Linked DNA regions of Homo sapiens: region 2 is linked to region 1. Evidence: promoter capture Hi-C in 16 types of primary human blood cells and fetal thymus (Javierre and others, 2016). All regions are on one chromosome and are shown on one strand. Each heading gives the region's core, a stretch centred on a gene start or on the middle of the fragment in contact. The rest is flanking DNA. Distances are from core to core; before and after follow the strand shown. Region 1 holds the start of SLC38A11 (solute carrier family 38 member 11). Region 2 has its middle 20 kb from the start of GALNT3.

Evidence for each region. The method cuts DNA at HindIII sites, captures the fragments that hold promoters and counts their contacts. A CHiCAGO score of 5 or more calls a contact.
Region 2: a fragment that was not itself captured here is called in contact with the fragment with the promoter of SLC38A11 in region 1 in 1 of 17 cell types (total B cells); the score reaches 7.0 in total B cells.

The regions. Positions count from the first base shown.
Region 1 is chr2:164,953,751-164,958,167 of GRCh38, reverse strand. It overlaps SLC38A11 (solute carrier family 38 member 11), which reads left to right and starts at 2,643. Exons shown (of 12, transcript NM_001351537.2): 1 at 2,643-2,959; 2 at 3,423-3,537. The coding sequence starts at 2,921. The HindIII fragment of the contact is 8,780 bases long and covers 1-4,417 here.
Region 2 is chr2:165,812,067-165,816,388 of GRCh38, reverse strand. No RefSeq gene overlaps it. Among named protein-coding and RNA genes, the nearest start is that of GALNT3, 20 kb to the right of the region's middle. The HindIII fragment of the contact is 737 bases long and covers 2,216-2,952 here.

The DNA.
Region 1 (4,417 bases), core at 1,394-3,893:
TTACAAAGTTTTTTTAAAATCAAGAATTCAACATTATCAAGTGTTTTTCCTGAATATAGTGAAATAATAACATGGCTTTTTCTTACCTGCTAATGTTGGAAATTATATTTATAAACTTTTTGTTAACTAAGCCATCCTTTCATAGTTGGACTATATTCAACTTTTTTATGATATTGTTAACTTTTCGTGAACAGACAGATTCAATTTGCTAATATTTTCCTTGGAATTTTTGCATATATATATTTTTGAGTAAAATAGGGTTATAATTTTTCCTTCTCAATGCACTTGTATCAGGATTAAGATTACTAATATTAAAACTGTAACTTCACAGAATTAAAAAAAAATTTGAAAGAGAGAAGATGGGAGAAGATATGTACAAAACATATAACTGACACAGGGTTGCCACCCCAAATATATAAATTATGCTTACAAATCAATAGAAAAAATTCACAACCAAAATCAAAAGAGCAAAAAAAAATGAAATTCACAAACAGAACAATGGAAATATTTAATTACTATATAAAAGATCTTCCACCTCAATGTAAATTAGGATAAAATACAAATCTATACAATAATTATACACCACTTAAAAATCCAGCAGAACAATTAAACTTAAAAAATAGATTAAGTAAGTCCTGGTGTTACAGACAATGTAGAAAAACAAGAATTTCACCTCTGTTGGTAGAAGTGAAATTCATGTTATCAATTTGCAAAGCAATTCAAAAATATTTAATGAAGGCCAGGCACAGTGGCTCACACCTGTAATCCCAGCACTTTGGGAGGCCGAGGAGGGTGGATCACCTGAGGTCAGGAGTTCAAGACCAGCCTGGCCAACATGGTGAAACCCCATCTCTACTAAAAATACAAAAACTTAGCCGGGCGTGGTGGCAGGCACCTGTATTCCCAGCTACTCCTGAGGCTGAGGCAAGAGAATCATTTGAACCCAGGAGGCAGAAGTTACAGTAAGCCCAGGTCACACCATTGCACTCCAGCCTGGGCAACAAAAGCGAAACTCCATCTCAATAATAATAATAATGATAATGAAGTTGAAAGTGTGCATGACCTACTACCTAACACTTCTACATCTAGAGAAATTGTCACTTTTATGCTCTGGAAGAGTGTAAAACGAGAAACAACCTTAATATCTTTCAGTAGGGGAAGGCTGACTTAACTGTTAGATAAAATGAAAAAAAAATCTGCATATATCTACATCATACATGCTGAAAACAAAAATGCCAGTGGAAAAATAACATGTACAATATGGCACCATCTTTGTAAATGTTGAAAATACAAAAGCCAATGTTATATATTGTTTATGGCTATAAATGAACGGATTAAAATACAAAGTATGAATAGCAAAGATAACACTAACTTGATGAACCGATGACTCCAGGGCTGAAGGCCTGGGGAAAGGAATGGAGAAGGTCAAGGGGGTTCCTATTGTGACATTGTGTTTACTTTTACAATTTGAAGAAAATATGACAGCATGTTAACATTTGATGGCAGAGTGTATATAAAGTTTATAAGTCTTTTGTTTTCCCACGGTTTTTAATTTTTTTTCTTAATTATAAGTAAACATGTATGAAACAGAACCTCTTTAATTAGGTACAGTTGGCCTCTATATCCCCACTTCTGCATCCATGCATTAAACCAATCCCAGATCAAAAATGTAGTTAGGGCTAGGATGGATGTGTCTATACTGAACACATATGGACTTTTTTCTTATTTCCTAAACAATACAGTATAACAACAAGTAAATAGCATTTACATTGTATTAGGTATTATAAATAATCTAGAGATGATTTAAAGTATGCTGGAGGATGTGCCTAGGTTACATGTAAATACCATGCTGTTTACTATCAAGGACCTGAGCATTCCTGGATTTCAGTATCTGCAGGGGTTCCAGAACCAATCCCCTATGGATATCAAGGGAAGGCAGAATTTGTTAAGTATGATGGCATATCACCGCTCTTATTGCCCCTGAAACTGTTGTCTCATGCATTCTGTCTCTGATATTGAATACTCTCTGGGCTTGTTGCTTCATCTGTAATGTAAGAGGACTGAATAGGTGGTCATTGAAGATTCTTTCTAGCTCAGGCACTGTAGGTGCCACCCCTTTCCCAAACCCTTGTACTCCTCTTTCCCTTTTCAAGGTTCATTACCTGAATGCAGTAACAATCCACCTTCATTTTCTCTATCGCTCCTTTTTCTAAAAGTTACCAGGAAGCGTTTGACCAAAGCATGCTCAGTAGTCAAGTTTGCTAAAACCCTAGGAAAGTTTTTTGTTTTGCTATTCATTTTCTTATGAGTCTTTCCATTTCCATTTACAATAAAAGTCCCAAATTTTCACTCGTCGTCTCTGCCATTGAAGAGGGGTAGCGAGGAGGAGGTGCTAATAGGGAAGATGGCCCATGGGCCCAAGGGTGCTTCTGCGTTCTTACCTGGGCTTCAGACCCCAGCAAAGGAGAAGCTAACTTAGGAACGGACTGCAACGAGGCGGTCATAACTCTGTGAGATCGGGGCAGGGCAGCGTGGGTGGAACAAGTTGTCCTCTGCAGCTCCAGGGAAGAGTAGCTCTCCCTGTTCTCTCAGGGAGGCGGGGGTGTGAAGGGGGGAGGCGGGGAGACAGGGCTGCCCGGATCAGAAACATCCTGCAGCATCTCCGTCTCCGGAGGAAAAATACATTTGTCTGGGCGAACTCCGGTGGAAAAGCGCCCCAGGCTGCCACAGCCTAGAGATCTTGGGGCTGCAGCCCTCGCGGCCTGCCGAGGGAGCAGGGGGCGCCCGTGGAACTGGCTCCCTGCAGCTCTGCGGCTACACGCGGACCTCGGCTGTGTGCGAGGTGGCGGAGGAGGCTGGCCGGGTGCGAATCCGTACCCAGCCCCAGCATCTTCCACCTGCTGAGGACCACCGCTCAGCCATGGGCTACCAGAGGCAGGAGCCTGTCATCCCGCCGCAGGTAAAACTAGCGACTAGGCAGGTTCTGAAGCCAGTTGTCCGGAAATTTCATTCACCTTGCAACAGGTCAGGTCACCTACCTTCACCTGGGCTCTTGGTTTAGCACCGCGAAAAGTTCTCTGGGACAAAAAGTTTTGCCTTAATCTGACTTTTTTTTTTTTTTTTCTTAGCAGGCACTTTAATTTCACAAAATCACATCACTGAATTCCTAACAGATCCTGTACTTAGCAGCTGGGGCAGCTGTAATCTGGAAATTTTAGGATGGAGTTTGCTTACCAAGCTCTGTTGAATTACTAGCTGTTATTGTTATTCTTTATTACTGTTATCCCGGCATTTATTTTATTTTCATTAGTGACATTACTTATTATTACTAGAAAATCGTGTTAGTATCCTGCATTACATATTTGTTACTTTTCTAATTTTCTGAACTAGTATTTGCTTATAATTGCTATTTTATCTATTAGAGAGATTTAGATGACAGAGAAACCCTTGTTTCTGAACATGAGTATAAAGAGAAAACCTGTCAGTCTGCTGCTCTTTTTAATGTTGTCAACTCGATTATAGGATCTGGTATAATAGGTAAGTGTATTTGCTTTGGTTTAAATTTTAAGTGAAAGGGCAAAATTTAAGACTCGCTACGCTGCTAGTGTTCATTAATTATTTTTAAAGAAAAAAAGACTTAAATAAGAAAATTGGTAATTTTCTTCCATAAAAGGCTTCCTTTTTTTCTAGTGTAACAGTATGTATGCATGTCTTTTATGCTGAAGATGGGGCTGTAATTCACACTGTTTCCACAGTTGAGAGCATCTTCCACATGTGGTAGATTAAGGTGAAACTGCATATGGGTGGTGGTGAATCATTTTTCTGTAGGCTGCGTGGTTGATTGCTAGTGTTACCGAATGTACTTTTTCCACTTACTGAAGGGTCCATCATTATTTGAATCATCTTTCTTTAACTTTCTAGAAGTATAAAACTTCCAGATATTTGTAAATGTTGGAGGTGAAAAGTTTAATATGAAAACATACCAATCTTATGAAAAATTAAATTCATACATTCTTTACCTATCTATACAGTGTTAAATTTTAAAGTACAAAATTATTACAATATATTAATTTTAAATATTATTTAGTCAACAATGCAAATTTGTTCATTGAAAATGCGTATTATTTTCCTAATAAAGGAGCCATACAATCAGAATTAAAATAAATAAATAGCTCAGATTTTTCCATTGTATTAGAAGCAAGGGAAATTTACTGAAAAAAGTTAAAAGTGCATTGCATTATAGTAATAAAAGCAGCTATATTTTCAGTGGTTATTATTCTTTTTGGTATCTGAAAACACTCTATCTCAGAAAAGACAAGAAGAAAACAAAATCCTGCAAAATGCAATACTTTTTGAGAATACAATGTTTTATAAAGTTGCAACATTTTTGTTTCTGTCATCACCTTCTGAAAATTAA
Region 2 (4,322 bases), core at 1,335-3,834, 860 kb before region 1:
GACTTACTGGTCTACATAGATTGTCTATTTCTAGAACACTATTCTATTCAATACTATAACCGACATTCACTTTCCTTGTTCAAAAACCACCAGTTATTTCCCATTATCCACAACAATATTGCCCTGAGTATTTTCTGAAGAAAGCAGTCGTAATTTTCCTAATATTCCTAATTTTGCACTGCATCTGCAGTACAGAAAAAGTGCTTTGAGGTCGCTCCTGTATGGGCCACTCTATCTCATTCATTGGGGATATCATATTACACTTATTATCATATAAAGGCCCTAATGGGTAAAGAAGGTGAACACAATGATAATATTGGAGTCCCAAACATTTGGCTTTGAGATACCATATTTATCAGGGAATGAGATAGAAATGAAGAAGGCCAGTGTAAATGAGGAAGTTAGACAAGATGCAAATAATTATATTACCATTATTCTTAGTACTATACTCTAGTTCCTGCTTCTAATTAAAGAACCTCATATTTCAATCAGTTACTGTCCACACTGCTGAGCCTAGTTTAGGATGATTATATTTTTGACTCTGCATAACATAAAATTGTAGGAGTGGAGGTGAAAAAGTTCAAGGGAGAGGGGTATGAAAAAGGAAGTGTTTACCAAGAGAAAATTTAGCATAGGTCTGCATTACTTCCTTGTGCAGCCATTGATACTTCTTGTTCTGCTGGTTTTAGTCTAAGTTTTCCATTTTATATCTCTATTTGCTGAAAGACAACAAGAGAAAAGCTGGGCCTGGAAAAGAATTGGCCCACAAGATAGTTTTAATAATGGCTAATATTTTGAGTGCTTACAATTTGCAGTCACAGTGCTAAGACTTTGATCATCTGACTAAACCCAGTGCTCATGATGTAGGCACTATTGTTAACCTAAGTTTACAAATGAGGAAATGGAAGCTTAGATTGGTTAAGAAAAAAATAAAACTAACCAAGGCACACAGCTGTGCTTTAATCACTATTCTAAAATGACAAATGAATGATGTGAGTATAATAACCTGAGATGAGACAATGGCTGAGTAAGAAGGGTCTTGGCCTAGGAATAAAAGGGCTCCGTTTTTCATCTGCCTCGATTATGGGGTTATTGTGAAAAATCAGCTAATGTCTCTTTTAAGGCCTCTGTAAATGTACACGAACCAAAAACACAATGCATTACTCTAGTACACATAAGACAGAATGGTTTGAGAATTAGGAAAATCCCATCAGAAAACTAAAATTGAGGGAGTCCACACTTAATATTAGAGGGAGAAAGATGGCTATATGACTATTTGATTAGGTATTCTGATGTTTGGGGCAGACAGAGGAGGATGGGCCCAAGATGCTTTGTAGGAAAGCAAAAAAGCAAAAGAGGAAATACCAAATGAGGATGAGTAGGTGTTGGCTAGCATAGCATGGAGATGTTTAGACAAAAAAAAAAAAAAAAAAAAAAAAAAAAAAGGAGAAAGCAGCAGAAGGAGACAGAGACACCTAAAGCCCAATTCCAAACTAGAGAAACAAGGAAGTGGATTTTTCTCTGGCTGCTGGATTGTCTATGTTTGCCACTGTGGCTGCTGAAACAAATGCTAACCTACTTGGTCTTGTGCATATTTGTTTTGTGGATGCATGGGCCATCTGTGTTCCGTCTATAAGCTTCGCTTGCTTTGCTTTTCTTTCCTCTCTTTGTCTCTTTCTTCCTTTCTTTCTTTCCTCTCTTCTCCTTCCTCCCTCCTTCTCTCCTTCCCTTCCTTCCCTTCCTTCCCTTCCTTCCCTTCCTTCCCTTCCTTCCCTTCCCTCCCTTCCCTTCCTTCCCTCCCTTCCCTCCCTTCCCTTCCCTTCCCTTTCCTTTCATTTCCTTCCTTCCTTCCTTCCTTCCCTTCCCTTTCCTTTCGTTTCCTTCCTTCCTTCCTTCGTTCTTTCCCTCCCTCCCTCCTTGGAAGCTCATGAAGTTGAATTTGAGATTTTTGCCAAATATCTTAAACCAGTGGTCTTCAAATTTAGTAAGAATTGGAATCCCTGAGATTTGTTTGCCAGATTTAGCAATTAAAAGTACAGGATACTCCATTTAATTTGAATTTCAGATAAATAATAAATTTTTTTTTAGTATAAGTATGTTCCAAATATTGCATGGGACAGACATACTTATACTGAAAATTGTTCATTGTTTATCTGAAATTCAAATTTAACTGGATGTCCTATAATTTATCTGGCACCTCTAGCTGGGGGAAGCTTGTTAAAATACAGATTTACTAGTTTCATCTTCTAACTCTGTCAGTTAGTCTGAAATGGAGCCACGTGGGCCTCCAGGTGATTCCAGTGCAGCTTGTTCTTGGACAACACCTTGAGAGATACTGGTCAAGCTCGGATGATGCTGACTTGAGGCTGAAACATTTCAGGAGGAGAGAAGGACACCTGGGAGAGAGGAGGGAGCTATGCATAACCATGGTAAACCCAGGGATGCTAGAGGACCTGGTCCTTGAGTAAGACCAGAAATAGCTCTGAGTGCTAGGACCCCAGTATGGTAACAAAAGAAGACACTGATTGAGCCCCACTGTTGTCATTTAATCCTCTCAACAGCCACATGAGAAAGATAACTCTTATTGTCTGTATCTCATTAGATGAGGAAATAAGAGCTCAGGATTAATTAACTTGTCAAAGGTCGTATAGGTAGTACTGAGTGGAATCAGGGTTTGATCCAAGACTGGTTATTTCCAAAGTCCACATTCTGAGCCAGTCCTATGAAAAAATAGTAGGCTTGAGGAGTTTTGTCAATACAACCATGTATATATATTGCTAAGTTACCTAAAGTATAGTCAGGGATGTGACATTTGCCCTCTGGAAGTGCTCAAACATCTCTACATTCTAATATATAACAGGCAAAGTGTCTGGGCATTTGTGAAAAGCCTAAAGATTTAAGCTACTAAAATATTTGGAGACTGATTAGTTGAGATATTGTTTAAGGAAAGCTTTTTTTGTCTAGAAGGCTCAGCCACATCGCCAAACCCATCATCCTAAAGGAAAGTATGTCAAGGGACCACTTCCTTTGGAGAATAGACCAACAATTCTCTCACCAGTTGACTTGAGACAGCTGAAAAGGCTCAAGAGAATGTCAGATAAGACCACTAGATACAGGGAACAGGTCAGTGGAGGAATTGGAGCCAATTAGACTAGAAGAAAGACAGCTCGAAGAAAACATGGCTAAGGATTCCTAACATTTGTAGAGCTGGTAAAGAGAAAAGGCAATGGGGAAGGAGGGATATGACTTGGAAAAGGATTTGACTCAATAACTATGTGGTACATTGCACTGTTATTCCAGATATTTACGGCTGTTCTCTGGGTTGTCTTGCTCCTGGCCCTGTCCTTCTCTGTGGGATGACTCCATGTGATGCATGTTGGCTAATGACATGTGGAAGCTCTAATGGCCAGTATACGATCCTCCAGGACCTCTTTTCCTCTGCCATGAGATCAGAAATGTCCCAGAGAGGGGCTTCTCCCTCAGCCAGGATCCCAGATGGATATCAATATATACCAGAGCCAAGCTGATTTGATAGGCACATAATGTTAGCCAAAAAAAAAAAAAAAAAAAGAAAGCCTCTGTTGTATTAGAGCTGACACTTTAGGGCTGTTTGTTACTGCAGAACAGCTTAGCTATCCTGACTGGTGAAATAAGAAACCACACTCTAAAGTCGAAGTTGTCTAAGCATGGAAAGGACTACTTGAGGAAGTGTTAGGTTCCATGGACTGGAAGTACTCGATATAGCTATACTACCAGTTTGGAGGATGTTAAAGAAAAACAAAAACAAAAACAAAAAAATGTCCTGGAGAGAGGTGGATTGAAATTTTGGCTGAGTAATTGGATCTTAATCTGTTCTCCATACCTGAGAGTCTATGCTCTGTTAATGGAAGATACAAGTAGGTACAAACTGAACAAGACAAATTGTATGGATCCATGCTTTCAACTCACTTGAAGAAGAGGAACACAGTGACATTAGGGTAGATTAGTATCAATTTGTGGTTACTGAAACTTATACTTGTTTGAGAACAGGCTTCTGCAATGTAACTAAAAGGAGAGTTAAATATTTATATGGTTTGAGATTAACCATAAAAGACCTTCAGGGGAGGATTAGAACACAAGAATAGCTAGGGAAAGTGCAATTTGGTCACTACCATGAGCCTCTCCCCAGAATGCTGCTAACTGTTAGTTGTGCAGTGCCAAGCCACACACTTGGCCAGAGATCAGAGAAGACAGGGTTACAGGGTGGGATACCACCATTCCATCAGATCCACAGTGCCCAGAGAAATATCTGGGTAGTATTCATTCTCTTCTTCTCTCTCCTC